Linked DNA regions of Homo sapiens: regions 1, 3, 4 and 5 are each linked to region 2. The links are contacts of gene promoters, found by promoter capture Hi-C in blood cells and fetal thymus (Javierre and others, 2016). All regions are on one chromosome and are shown on one strand. The core of a region is centred on a gene start or on the middle of the fragment in contact, and the rest is flanking DNA. Distances in the headings are between cores, read along the strand shown. Region 1 overlaps LOC105377037 (a long non-coding RNA gene). Region 2 holds the start of EPM2AIP1 (EPM2A interacting protein 1). Region 3 overlaps LOC101928263 (a long non-coding RNA gene). Region 4 overlaps SCN11A (sodium voltage-gated channel alpha subunit 11). Region 5 holds the start of RPSA (ribosomal protein SA).

Evidence for each region. Contacts are between HindIII fragments. The CHiCAGO score rates a contact against its expected background, and 5 or more counts as called.
Region 1: a contact is called between a fragment that was not itself captured here and the fragment with the promoter of EPM2AIP1 in region 2, in 1 of 17 cell types (total CD4 T cells). The highest score is 5.3, in total CD4 T cells.
Region 3: a contact is called between a fragment that was not itself captured here and the fragment with the promoter of EPM2AIP1 in region 2, in 1 of 17 cell types (neutrophils). The highest score is 7.8, in neutrophils.
Region 4: a fragment that was not itself captured here is called in contact with the fragment with the promoter of EPM2AIP1 in region 2 in 5 of 17 cell types (naive CD8 T cells, total CD4 T cells, total CD8 T cells and 2 more); the score reaches 14.3 in naive CD8 T cells.
Region 5: the fragment with the promoter of RPSA here is called in contact with the fragment with the promoter of EPM2AIP1 in region 2 in 1 of 17 cell types (naive CD8 T cells); the score reaches 5.7 in naive CD8 T cells.

The regions. Positions count from the first base shown.
Region 1 is chr3:39,376,699-39,379,398 of GRCh38, reverse strand. LOC105377037 (a long non-coding RNA gene) reads right to left here. Exons shown (of 3, transcript XR_001740661.3): 2 at 1,722-1,923. Among named protein-coding and RNA genes, the nearest start is that of SLC25A38, 5.3 kb to the left of the region's middle. RefSeq lists a silencer at 1,148-1,197. The HindIII fragment of the contact is 8,755 bases long and covers 1-2,700 here.
Region 2 is chr3:36,991,713-36,994,412 of GRCh38, reverse strand. EPM2AIP1 (EPM2A interacting protein 1) reads left to right here and starts at 1,282. Exons shown (of 1, transcript NM_014805.4): 1 at 1,282-2,700. The coding sequence starts at 1,336. It overlaps MLH1 (mutL homolog 1), which reads right to left and starts at 895. Exons shown (of 19, transcript NM_000249.4): 1 at 750-895. The coding sequence starts at 865. RefSeq lists enhancers at 194-705, 622-841, 1,212-1,561, 1,682-2,001, 2,032-2,111. The HindIII fragment of the contact is 4,668 bases long and covers 411-2,700 here.
Region 3 is chr3:39,161,201-39,164,088 of GRCh38, reverse strand. All of the region lies in intron 1 of LOC101928263 (a long non-coding RNA gene), which reads right to left. Among named protein-coding and RNA genes, the nearest start is that of CSRNP1, 9.1 kb to the right of the region's middle. The HindIII fragment of the contact is 5,351 bases long and covers 1-2,888 here.
Region 4 is chr3:39,047,723-39,050,452 of GRCh38, reverse strand. The region is part of intron 1 of SCN11A (sodium voltage-gated channel alpha subunit 11); the gene reads left to right. Among named protein-coding and RNA genes, the nearest start is that of SCN11A, 2.9 kb to the left of the region's middle. The HindIII fragment of the contact is 2,996 bases long and covers 1-2,730 here.
Region 5 is chr3:39,405,254-39,408,120 of GRCh38, reverse strand. It overlaps RPSA (ribosomal protein SA), which reads right to left and starts at 1,401. Exons shown (of 7, transcript NM_002295.6): 1 at 1,357-1,401; 2 at 335-500. The coding sequence starts at 467. RefSeq lists a silencer at 1,018-1,197 and enhancers at 1,368-1,507, 889-1,680. The HindIII fragment of the contact is 4,276 bases long and covers 1-2,867 here.

The DNA of each region.
Region 1 (2,700 bases), core at 48-2,547, 2.4 Mb before region 2:
CAGTTGACTTTAAGTAAAGGAGATTATCTTTCATAATCTGGATGAAAGAAAATCAGGACACATATTTCCCTGACAAATACACCTTGTTTCCCTTCCTTAAAGGGTAGAGGCTATCTCCTGCTTTTTTCTGTGTGTCTTTGAGAGACCACTGAGGCAGAGTAATGCTGTAAAAAGAAAGTGGACTTTGGAATCAGGCATTGATTCTGTATTTGATCCTGGATTTGTCACCTGCTAGCTGTGTATTCACCTCAACTTTCTTGTTTGTTATTTTGAGATAAGTCTTGTGCTATTGCCCAGGCTGGAGTGCAATGGTGTAATCTCAGCTCACTGCAACCGCCGCCTCCCGGGCTCAAGTGATTCTCCTGCCTCAGCCTCCTGAGTAGCTGGGATTACAGGCGCACATCACCACGCCCAGCTAATTTTTGTTTTTTTAGTAGAGATGGAGTTTCACCATGTTGGCCAGGCTGGTCTCAAACTCCTTACCTCAGGTGATTGCCTGCCTCGGCCTCCCAAATTGCTGGGATTACAGATGTGAGCCACTGCGCCTGGCCAGTTTATGGGCCTTAATTAGAGGTCAAGAGTGAAGCCTCCCATATATAAAATTAAATACTTAGGGTAGATTCAGTGGCTCCGGCTTGTAATCCCAGCATTTTGGGAGGACGAGACAGCAGGATCTCTTGAGCCCAAGAGTTCAAGACCAGCCTGGGCAACATAACAAGACCTTGTCTCTACAAAAATAAAAACAGTAGCCAGGTGTGGTGGAATGAGCCTGTAGTCCCAGCTACTCGGAAGGTGGAGGCAGGACAGTCTCTTGAGCCCAGGAGTTCAAGGCTGCAGCAAACTATGACTGCACCACTGCACTCCAGCCTGGGTGACAGAGCAAGACCCTGTGTCTATGTTTTTTTAATTCCAAATACTTACCAAACATCTGCATTTTTACCAAAAATCTCAAAGCAGAATTTCTAATGACAGATTAGGTATGTAAATTAGAAGTCTTTCCCTCTGGCCCCTTTGTTTCTTAACACGCGTGGCACTCCATCATCTGCCATTCTTTCCCATCTGTTCTCTTTCACCCAGTCAGAAGCTCAGCTCAAACTGGCCACTAGAGGGAACACGTGTCCTGTTCCCAACAGGTTCTGGGTCCTGGCTTCAGGTGTCTGTAAATTACCTGATAGTCCCACTGGCATTGTCACTGAGCTACTGGCCTTGGGTGTACCAGGGTGAAGGCACTGGCCCTTGGTCCCAGACGCTGCCCCTTTCCAATTCCTCATGTATGCTTCATCTGTCTGGTCTATACAGGAGACCAGCTGTGGTGGGAAAGTATAAGGAGATGCCAGGAGTGGCTTCGGATAGAAGTGGAGAGAACACTGAACTAAAAGTCAGGAGTTTCTGATGCTAGTCCAATATCTGACAAAAACTCATTGTCACCTCTCTAGGCTTCAGCTTTCTCACGTGTAAGATGAGGGCCTTGAACTAAGTGGCTCCAAGTTCCTTTTCTGGGCTAATATCATATGAATCAGGGATCATGATCTCCAGACTCCCTTGGTCCTGACTTTCAGGCTAATGCAAGCCACAGAGGAGATATAGGAGATAGGCTGGGGCACAGATTGCACTGAGGAAAATGCATATGCATAAACAAAGTTTTGCCAACAGTTCTGTATTATTTAGAGCACCCCTGCAAGCCCAGTTAAACCCTACTGGTGTAGGGGGTTTCAACATACCAGGGACAGCTTTAGCAATCTTAGTAAGGTCTGCTTCTTTAAGGAATTGCACAGAGCACCAACAACCTGGAAGTCTTGTCCATGACCCATCCACAGTCTTCTCCATGAACTCATTGTAGAGCCTCACCATGATGGGGCTCCAGCTGGCACTGGGGAGGGAGTAATCCTTTGTATCAGACTGGAGGTGGCTACTGCTTGAGACCTGAAAAGTCCAAAAGGGGTGGTGGACTGTCCCCAGTACCTTCCGATTTGACTCATTCATTCAAGCATTTACTAATAGATGAGTCTGTTTTCATCTTGCAGAGCATGTACAAATACCCAGAGGTAAGAGAGAGCATGTCAGATTCCTAGAACTGTAAATGTGGAAACGTCTAGTAGGAGGGAAGGAATGGAAGGGAGGAGGCCAGAGGGAGAGCCTGGGGCCCTCCATCAACCATGTAGGAGAATGTAGGCTTTATGCTGAAGAGGTTTAAGCAGGAGAATGAAAGGGTCAGATTTGCATGTTAGAAGGATTTCCGTACACGGGAAGTTACAAACTGGTCAAGTCTCACTCACACTGGAGAGCCTTGCTGATATGCAATTCAAAGACACATTCTTTCCCCTGCCTGTTTCCTTTCAGCTTCCAGCTCCTCTGTGCCTCCCTCTCCTGCTCCCCAGTTCCTTCAGGTTCTGCTTCTAAGACGGTTCACCTTGTTTGACTATGTAGTTTATTTTATCTCCTTACTGTCCTATTACAATCAGAAGGCTCAGCCATCATCCTGGCTAACACAGTGAAACCCCATCCCTACTAAAAATACAAAAAATTAGCCGGGCATGGTGGTGGTTGCCTGTAGTCCCAGCTACTCGGGAGGCTGAGGCAGCAGAATGGTGTGAACCCGGGAGGTGGAGGTTGCAGTGAGCCGAGATCGCGCCACTGCACTTCAGCCTGGGCGACAGAGTGAGACTCCATCTCAAAAAAAAAAAAAAAAAAAAGGCGGCT
Region 2 (2,700 bases), core at 33-2,532:
TAATCTGACATAACGTTTAGGTGTATTTTGGGCTTGTCTTTTTGGAAGTTTATAGTCTGCACTCACTTTTCCTTCCACATGTTTCAAATCTCTTCCCTTCACATTTTTTGTCACAGTTATAAGCTTCAAAATCCAAGGATGACCCATAAAATCTGGTATCTTCGAAGTGCGTCCTCCGAAATAAAGGACAGGAAAACACTAAGAGGGGTCACTAATTTAACAATAGGGTAATCAGAAGTCAAGCCCAAAGTGCATCAGCCTGTCCTAAAACTACAAACGATTTGTTTTGAAAGAAACTCAAAATGAATTGTGCCTTTGGATGTGAACAGATGATTTCTGGAATGAATGAAAAGCAAGAAAACAGTAACACAGTACCCTCTGAAAAAAGGTTTTTCTCCCCATCTTAAGCTTTTATACATCTTTTAACTTCGCATGTTCTGCATACATAATTTTAAATTAAGTGGCTTCCTTACTTAGTTAACGGTACCATTAAGACAACACTACGTATATTCCTCCACTTACACTCCAAACAACCCTTAAAAGGTCTCGGGGGAGAGCGGTAAAGAAACACACGGTCTGCGGAAAAGGAGAAGGCCTGACTGGCACGTCAGGGAACCCGGCGGCCTCCGCCGTTGTGGGCATGCGCTGTACATGCCTCTGCCCGGGCAAAGAGGCGTGTCCGCGCCATTGAGTGACGCGGCCCGTTAAGTCGTAGCCCTTAAGTGAGCCCGGCTCGACTCCCTCCGTACCAGTTCTCAATCATCTCTTTGATAGCATTAGCTGGCCGCTGGATAACTTCCCCCGCCGCGATGCGGTTCACCACTGTCTCGTCCAGCCGCCGAATAACCCCTGCCACGAACGACATTTTGGCGCCAGAAGAGCCAAGGAAACGTCTAGATGCTCAACGGAAGTGCCTTCAGCCAATCACCTCAGTGCCTCGTGCTCACGTTCTTCCTTCAGCTGTAGCTTACGCCATCCAGCCCCACCCTTCAGCGGCAGCTATTGATTGGACAGCTTGAATGCCAGTCAAATTTCTCAACTCTGTGGGTTGCTGGGTCTCTTCGTCCCTCCCTGAAGCGGCTACTGCCCGCTACCTAGAAGGATATGCGCTTGCGCGTTAGAGATCGCTGTCCGCTCTTCCTATTGGTTCGTTTTTAGGAGCTCGGGGAATACGAAATATCCAGCCAATAGGAGCAGAGATGCCGGAACCGGGCTTGTGTGCCTCTGCTGAGGTGATCTGGCGCAGAGCGGAGGAGGTGCTTGGCGCTTCTCAGGCTCCTCCTCTCCCCTTGCGGCCTTTCTAACGTTGGCCCTGCTCTTGTGGCCTCCCGCAGAATGTGGATGACGCCCAAAAGAAGCAAGATGGAAGTCGACGAGGCTCTAGTTTTCCGGCCCGAGTGGACCCAGCGTTATTTGGTGGTGGAGCCTCCGGAGGGCGATGGGGCCCTGTGCCTGGTCTGTCGCCGCCTCATCGTAGCTACCCGCGAACGCGACGTCAGGCGCCACTACGAGGCTGAGCACGAATACTACGAGCGGTATGTGGCGGACGGCGAGCGCGCGGCCCTGGTGGAGCGTCTGCGTCAGGGCGACTTGCCCGTGGCCTCCTTCACTCCTGAAGAGAGAGCTGCTCGTGCAGGCCTCGGGCTCTGCCGCCTCTTGGCCTTGAAGGGTCGCGGCTGGGGTGAGGGGGACTTTGTATACCAGTGCATGGAGGTGTTGCTGAGAGAGGTACTGCCCGAGCATGTAAGCGTCCTGCAAGGCGTTGACTTATCTCCAGATATCACAAGGCAGAGGATCCTGAGCATTGACAGGAATCTACGCAACCAGCTTTTTAACCGAGCCAGGGACTTTAAAGCCTATTCTCTTGCCTTGGACGACCAGGCTTTTGTGGCCTATGAGAACTACCTCCTGGTCTTTATCCGCGGTGTAGGCCCTGAGTTGGAGGTGCAAGAAGATCTTCTGACCATAATCAACCTGACTCATCATTTCAGTGTTGGTGCGCTCATGTCGGCAATCCTAGAGTCCCTGCAGACAGCAGGGCTTAGCTTGCAGAGAATGGTTGGACTGACCACGACCCATACTTTGAGGATGATTGGTGAGAACTCAGGACTCGTCTCATACATGAGAGAAAAGGCCGTAAGCCCCAACTGTTGGAATGTCATTCATTATTCAGGATTTCTTCACTTGGAACTGTTGAGCTCCTATGATGTAGATGTTAATCAGATCATAAATACCATATCCGAATGGATAGTTTTGATTAAGACCAGAGGCGTTAGGCGACCTGAATTTCAGACTTTACTAACGGAATCTGAATCAGAGCATGGTGAAAGGGTTAATGGACGATGTCTGAACAATTGGCTTAGGAGAGGGAAAACTTTAAAACTAATATTCTCTCTAAGAAAAGAAATGGAAGCGTTCTTGGTTTCAGTAGGGGCAACAACAGTCCACTTCTCAGACAAACAATGGCTTTGTGACTTTGGCTTCTTGGTGGACATTATGGAACACCTTCGAGAACTCAGTGAAGAATTACGAGTTAGTAAAGTCTTTGCTGCTGCTGCCTTTGACCATATTTGTACTTTCGAAGTTAAGCTGAATTTATTTCAAAGACATATTGAGGAAAAAAATCTAACAGACTTTCCTGCCCTCAGAGAAGTTGTTGATGAGCTAAAACAGCAAAATAAGGAAGATGAAAAAATATTT
Region 3 (2,888 bases), core at 125-2,624, 2.2 Mb before region 2:
AGTAACTCAGGAGTGGAAAACCAAATACTGTATGTTCTCACTTATAAGTGAGAGCTAAGCTGTGGGTACACAAAGGCAAACAGCATGGTGTAATAAACTTTGAAGACTCAGAAGTAGGGGGGTGGAAAAGGGGTGACAGATATTGGGACAATATACACTACTTGGGCGAGAGATGCACTAAAATCTCAGACTTCCCCACTATATAATTCATCCATGAAACCAAAACCCCCTGGGACCCCACAAGCTATTGAAAGAAAAAATTATATATAGAGAGAGAACGAAAAGGCCTGACATTGTGGGCACATCCTATACCCAGGTAAGAGGAGGATTAAACCAAGAGCTGTAAGGTGACAGATTAGCTGAAAAGTTCCAGAGGAGAGCTGACTGCACTAACAAACGTTGCGTTTTCAAACATGTTTCAGGTGCATGTCAGGTCATTCGGATGGGACAACAGTTTATACCACAGTAGCCAAATGTAAAAAGAAAAAAGTCATTTCAGGAAAAAGCATCAGGTTGAAGGTAGTGCCTCCAAAGATAATGTCCTCCTGGAAGCTGTGAATGTATGAAAGGAGTTTTGTGGGTGTAATTCCGTTAACAATCTTGATGCCATCATCATGGATTGAGATGGGCCCTAAATCCAATGATAAGTGTCTTCAGAAGAGAAGAGGAGAAAAGGCCCACAGGGGAGAAGGCAACGTGAAGACAGAGCAGAGCCCAGAGGGACGCGGCCACAAGCCAAGGAGTGCCGAGGAGGGCCGGCAGCCACCAGAAACTGCAAGAGAGGCAGGGAATGGTTTTCCCTCACAGTGTCCAGAAGGAAACAGCAGTGCCAACACCTTGACTTAGGACTTCTGGCCTCCAGAACTGTGAGAGAATAAATTTCTATTGTTTTAAGCCAAAAAATAAAAAGCAAGGTGAAAGCAGCCATCATGATCATTATCATTTAACATGGCTCTAGCAGTTCAAGCCAGTGTAATTAGACAAAAAAGAGAAATGTGATGTAAATATTGGAAAGAGGAAGCAAATTTATATGTAGATGATGTGATTGGAAAATTCCCAACTATTAGAGAGGCAGTAATTCAGGATGGCTCGGGTGCGGTGGCTCATGCCTGTAATCCCAGCACTTTGGGAGGTTGAAGCAGGTGGATTTCTTGAGCCCAGAAGTTCGAAACCAGCCTGGAAACATGGCGAAACTCTGTCTCTACAAAAAATACAAAAATTAGCTAGGCATGATGGCGAGCACCTGTGGTGCCAGGTACTAGGGATGCTGAGGTGGAAGGATCACTTGAGTCCAGGAGGCAGAGGTTGCAGTGAGCCAAGATTGTGCCACTGGGCAACAGAGCAAGATCCCATCTCAAAAAAATAAATAAATAAAGATGATGGCAGTTTCCAAGGTTCATATACAAAACCCAGTAGCTCTCCTTTACTTTACTTTATATACATAATATATGTATATATATAAAATCTATCAGAAATATACGATAGAAATTACAGTTATAATGGCAATCAAAAAGACAAAATATTTAGAAAAATATTTAAAAGACATATAAGGGCCTTTACAAAGATAATATTAAAATTATACAGAATGCTGGGCAAAGTGCTCCCAGCATTTTGGGAGGCCAAAGCGGGAGGATGGCTTGAGCTCAGGAGTTTAAGACCAGTCTGGGCAACATAGTGAAGCCTGACCACTGCTAAAAACAAACAAAATTAGCCAAATGTGATGGTGCACGCCAGTAGTCCCAGCTACTTGGGAAGCTAAAGTAAGAGGATTGCTTGAGCCCAGGAGTTTGAGTCTGCAGTGAGCTATGAGCCCACCACTGCACTGCAGCCTGGGCAACAAAGTGAGATCCTGTCTCTAAAAATAAAAATAAATAAAATAATAGAGAACATTCTATTCTAGGCTTTTGTTTTTTGTTTTGTTTTGAGACAGGGTCTCACTCTGTCTCCCAGGCTGGAGTGCAGTGGCATGATAATGACTCACTGCAGCCTCAACCTTCTGGACTCAAGTGATCCTCCCACCTCAGCCTCCCGAGTAGCTGGAACTACAGGCATATGCCACCACACACCACAAAGTTTCGAATTTTTGTAGAGACAGGGTCTCCCTATGTTGTCCAGGCTGGTCTCAAACTCCTGGATGCATGTGATCCTCCCACCTTGGCCTCCCAAAGTGCTGGGATTACAGGTGTGAGCCACTGTAGCCAGACTACTCTGTGTTTTTTGTTTTTTTTTGAGACAGTGTCTTCCTCTTGTCACCCAGGCTGGAGTGCAGTGGTGTGATTTCAGCTCACTGCAACCTCTGCCTCCGGGGTTCAAGTGGTTCTTCTGCCTCAGCCTCCCAAGTAGCTGGGATTACAGGCACCCACCACCATGCCTGGCTAATTTTTTTTTTTTTTTTTTTTTTTGAGATGGAGTCTCATTCTTGTCCCCCAGGCTGGAGAGCAATGGCGCGATCTCGGCTCACTACAAACTCCGCCTTCTGGGTTCAAGCGATTCTCCTACCTCAGCCTCCCGAGTAGCTGGGATTACAGGTGCCTGCCACCACACCCAGCTAATTTTTGTATTTTTAGTAGAGACAGGGTTTCACCATGTTGGCCAGGCTGGTCTCGAACTCCTGACCTCAGGTGATCCACCCGCCTCGGCGTCCCAAAGTGCTGGGATTACAGGCATTAGCCACTGCGCCCGACTAATTTTTGTATTTTTAGTAGAGACGGGGTTTCACCATGTTGTCCAGGCTGGTCTCGAACTCCTGACCTCAGGTGATCCACCTGCCTCAGCCTCCCAAAGGGCTGGGATTACAGGTATGAGCCACTGTGCCCGGCCTATTCTGTGCTTTTGAATAGAAAGACTCAATATTATAAAAATGTCAGTGTTGGCTGGGCACAATGGCT
Region 4 (2,730 bases), core at 159-2,658, 2.1 Mb before region 2:
AACAAAATATTATTTAGCATATCATATATGCCAGGCACTATATTAGGTGTTGGGGAATCAGTGGTGAGTGCACATAGTCATAGAACTTAGAGTCCCAGGATGAGACAGGAATTAATACAGAGATAAGTACTATGAAGAAAGATGATTGTAAGACAGGAAGTATCTTGAGTCAAGAGTTAACTAGGCAAGGAGAGGGAACAGTCTGAGCAAAGGTCTTGTAGCAGGAGAGAGCATGGAACATTACAGGAACTGAGAGTCAAGGCTTAGAGTACAGAGAAGTGAAAGGAGTATGCAGAGGCCATACCCAGCAGGATCTTTTAGACCAATGGGAAGCTGTTGAAATACAGGTAGGGAAATAATATGTCTGTATTTTAAAAATTGCTTAAGTGTCTATTGAGCACCTATGATGTGCAAAATACAATACAGGTATGTTGCTCTGGACAATATACTGGTACTTGCTAGAAATTGATATGTTGTAGTCCTGCTTTGGACCTGAAAAATATTGAAATAGTGAAGTTCTTTCAGTGGGCAGAATTTTCACCAGTATGTTTTGATGTTCAGTTTGGCTGAAAGGAGAAATGGTCAATTCAGGGTCAGAGGATAATTTTTTGGCCAGTTTGTGAAGGACATGGAAAGAGCAAGACTGGAGAACTAGTGACAAGGAAGACTCCAGAAGGGATATAGTGATGGACCTCTCAGAATAAATCTTAAGAATCATATGGATGAAATGAACTGCTTTGTGATGAAACTCAGCCTCACTGCCTGCTCAGTAGAATCATGAAATAAATGGCAATGGCAATGGCAACAGGATTGGAGCTATGCATGGGATCACCAAGCCACCGCTGGGTGTTCAGAAGCAGTGACCAATACCCCATGCTCTGGGAGGGTCAGCCAGTCACATGTAGGCAAGTCTATTCCATTGGTCATTGGCCCTCCCCATCATTGAGGGAGTTCTTATTTGTCCTCTCTAAAATATGTTTATTCTAGATTGAGATTTGCTTTCCCTGCTCACTGTACTTCCGCTGACACCACCATCTAGGGAATTACTCAGTGCTTTAGACACTATCATTTTCTCTAACACTATATTGCTTTTGACCAAGAAATTCACTCTGCAATGAAAGAAGTAATGCAATGGGCTATTGCCCATGGAATTTATTGGTCTAATTGTGTACTCAATCACTGAGAAGTATCTTGTCTTATTGAAGATATATTGAAGACTTAGCTATGGTGCCTTCTGGGAGATAACCCTTTTTGATACTGTCCTGTAGGATGCAGTATATGCTCTGAACTACTGTCCAATATTCAGCACTCTTTTTTCCTGTTCCTTTTATCTATTGCTGTTTAACCATCTGCAAAATGCAATGGTTTAAAACAATTACAACCCTTACTTTACTTACAAATCTGTAATTTATGCAGAGCTTCATGGGAACAGATTGTCTCTGTTCCACTATCCACTTCACATCAGCTGGGGCAGCTAAAAGATTGGGGCTGGAATCATCTGAAGACCCCTTCTCTCACATGTCTGGTGACTGATACTGGTGTTGGCCTAGTCCTTAGCCAAAGCTGTGGCTAGAACACCTTCTCATGATCTTTCCACAGCACTATTTGGTTCCTCACAATATGCTAACTGGGTTCCAAGGATGAGCATCCCGAAGAAGAAAAATCTGGTTGAAAGCTATAATGCTTTTTCTAAACTCACAGTGGAAGTCATGCAGTGTCACTTTAAGCCATAGTCAATTCATTAGAACTTAGTTACTAAGGCCATCAGTGTCTAAGGAGAGGGGATTAGATGACTCCTTTTTTTATGAAGTATCAATAAATTTGTGGATGTATTTTTTAATTGACACATAATAATTGTACATATATATGGGGTACAGTGTGATATTTTGATACCTGTATACAATCTGTAATAATTGCTTTGGGAAAATTCAATATCCACTCTTTTAGCTATTTGAAAATATGGAATAAATTATTGTTAATCATAGTCATCCTACAGTGATATAGAACACCAAAAATTATTCCTTCTACCTAGCTGTAATTTTATATGTGTTAACCAACCTCTCTATATATAATCCTCTCCTTTACCCTTCTCAGCCACTAGTTACCACTATTCTGTTCTCTACTTCTCTGAGATCAACTTATTTCTCTTTCACATATTGGTGAGAACATGCAGTATTTATCTTTCTGTGCCTGGCTTATTTCACTTAAGATAATGACCTCCGGTGCTATCCATGTTGCTGCAAATGACATAATTTTATTCTTTTTTATGATTGAATAGTATTTCATTGCATATATGTACCACATTTTCTTTATCCATTCTTCTTTTGATGGACACTTAGGTTAACTCCGTATCTTGGCCACTGTGAATAGTGCTGCAGTAACTGTGGGAGGACAGGTATCTCTTTGACATACTGATTTCCTGTTCTTTGGGTAGTAGTGGGATTGCTGGATCATATGGTAGTTGTAGTTTTAGTTCTTTGAGAAATCTACACACTGTTTTCCATAATGGTTGAACTAATTTACATTCCTATCAACAGTGTATGAATTCCCTTTTCTCTGCATCCTCACCCTCTGCATTTGTTTTTGTCTTTTTCGTATAGCGATTCTAACTGGAGTGAGATAATATCTCACTGTGGTTTTGATTTGTATTTCCCTGATGATTAGTGATGTTGAGCATTTTTTTCATGTATTTGTTGGCTATTTATATGTCTTCTTTTGAAAAATGTGTAT
Region 5 (2,867 bases), core at 152-2,651, 2.4 Mb before region 2:
CCCACTTTCCACTCAAAATTCAGTTCAATAGCCTGTGTAAGTACCTATGAAGTTGAAGGCACTATGCGAGCTATTAGAAACTCAGCCAATGAACTTTCTCATGTTCATGACCCAACCCAAGTCCCGTAACTCAGACAACTGACATATTCCTCCCCTGGAGCAGAAATCTTTTCTCTCAATAACAAGAACATTTATTTAAAGTATGTTTTCAACGTAGGGGTCTGGCTTCATTTAAGGAAGATAGAAAGAAATTACCCAGAACTAACCACGAGAATAGCAAGCTCAAAATTTGTACTTACAGCTGGAGTAACAAAAAATTAAAGCAATGACTAACCATCACTTTTCCTTTTATAGATGTACTGTTCCATCTGGAAGTCAAGATTGGTGCCACCTAAGTGGGTTCCTGCTGCAAGGAACTTAAGGACATCCTCCTCCTTCATTTGCAGGACATCAAGGGCTCCGGACATTGTGAAAATTTCCCTTTAAGTTACGACGGGAATCTGAAATAAGAGAGCAACCTATTTCTTTTCATTCCATTGAGTTAAGTAGGGCACACCCTTAAAAGCAACCAAAAACTCCATCTGCTATAGTGTCAGGCATTGAGCTTACAGTGTAGTGAAGGGTAAACAGAAAGTTAACCCATACATGTCGTGTATTACGGAACAGCGCACATCTTACTGAGGAAATAGTGTGGACGGCAGAGTAACCGAGTAATAAAACTACACGAAATTAGCGAATGGAAATTCAACACTTCTCAAGATAGGAATTAAGGAAAAGTTGTGGATGCGCCAAGTTAACAACTAGATACAAAAGAGCAGCCATGTTTGGAATATGCAAACTAAAGGCAAAAAAGGCATGAATTGTTTTCAGACATTTTCAAGCAGATTGTAGGCGGATGCTTTGGAATTACTTCGCTGTGCTGTCACCACTTGTTTGTCTAAAAACCCGAGAACCTTAACTCCTGACCCGCACGGCGCGAAGGGAAAACCCGACCAGCCCAAGTAGCTGGTGTAAATCAGCGCCTGGGCCTAGACTCACCGCCGTGTGGGACTCCGAAGGGATAGCAACACAGGATGTTAGCCCGCTTTCTGCACTCCCGCCCACCCGCGGCCTGGTCCGAACCCCAGCTCGGAGCCTCCGCTGGAGGGCGGCCTCCACCCGCTCCCGGGGCACTCTGGGAACCCGCCAGCCCGAGCCTGGCCACGTGCGGGCCGCAGGCCTAAGGTGGGGCGCGCCGGGCGGGAGACAGATCCAGTCTGACCGGCTTTCATCACTAGTCTTCTCACCCTTCATTTGAGCAGGAAAAGCTCATTTTTCTAGCCCTGGAAGGCGCCAGGGACGCTACACGGAACTCACCCAGAACAACGCCGTATGGACCCCTCTGCAGGTAGCACGGAAAAGACAGGCGGCAGGAAATGACGTCCTTATGTACTCCGTTGTCAGCCAATGGCAAAGAAAGTCGAGCGGAAGAAGGGCGGAGCCGGAGAAGAACGCTGCCGGGACTGGGCTTTTTCTTCAGGAAGGCGGGCTTGCGCCGCAGGAGCGGGCCTCTGGGCTGTAGCCGGTAGCGGCATCCTGGTCGGATCTGGGGCGCTTGTGACTTTGGGGTTTCTAGTGCCACAGCGACGCCCTGTGCATAATTCCTGTCCAGAGCGCGGAACTCAAGTTAGTCAGCCAGGCGGGGCGTTCTTACCCAGCCCTTGTACCTGCGAATATGAGCGGCTTTCTAGCCTAAGCTGCCATTTTGTTACCTGAAAAGTAGGAAGGTTTGTTCGACACAACAAATTGTTAGGTAAACAAAAACTTGAAGATTTATTTTATTTTATTTTCCTGGAGAACAGTTTAACAGGACGTAATTCAGATTTAAATGTTCACTTAAGGGAAGTTTTCTCTGAAAAAGTTAAAAAAGATAAGATTGAACTGATCGTATGCGTTATGTCTATCTCATGTATCTATCCATCTATCACCTGGGGGAAGTTTCCCTGAAAAAGTTAAAAAGGACAAGATTGAACAGATGGTATGGATTATATCTATCTTTTTTTTTTTTTTTTTTTTGGTAGAAGAAAAATTTTGCAATATCCATCAGTAGGAGATAAGTTTGCCGGGCGCGGTGGCTTGTGCCTGTAATCCCAGCACTTTGGGAGGCCGAGGTGGGTGGATTGCCTGAGCTCAGAAGTTCAAGACTAGCCTGGGAAACATGGGGAGACCCCCATCTCCACAAAAAATACAAAAATTAACCAATCATGATGGTGCGTCCCTGTAGTCTCAGCTACTCAGGAGGCTGAGGCAGGAGGATAGCTTGAGCCTAGAGGTCAAGTCTGCAGTGAATGTGATTGCACCGCTGCACTCCAGCCTGGGCAATAGAGCGAAATTCTGTCTCCAAAAAACAAACAAAAAAATAGGAGTTAATTGAAGGGGCGCGGTGGCTGTAATCCCAGCACTTTCGGAGGCTGACGCGGGCGGATCCCTTGAGGCCAGGAGTTCAAGAGACCAGCCTGGCCAACATGGCGAAACCCGGTATCTACTAAAAATTCAAAAATTAGCCAGGCATGCCTGTAATCCCAGCTACTGGGGAGGCTGAGGCGGGAGAATTGCTTGAACCCAGGAGGCAGAGGTTGTAGTGAGTGGAGATTGCGCCACTTGCACTCCAGCCTGGGCGACAGAGTAAGACTCCGTCAAAAAAAAAAAAAGTGCAGGTTCCTCTCTGGGGCCTGCTGAGTCAATCTGATTTCTGAGCCCACCCTAAAATGAACTCGTAGACCCTTATGGCCACTCTTCCAAAGGACAGCACATCCAGGTTCTCCTGCAAGTGGCTCTGCAGCTCCACTGAAGCCAGTATGATTTTCTGAGGAGCTTGGAAACCCTTG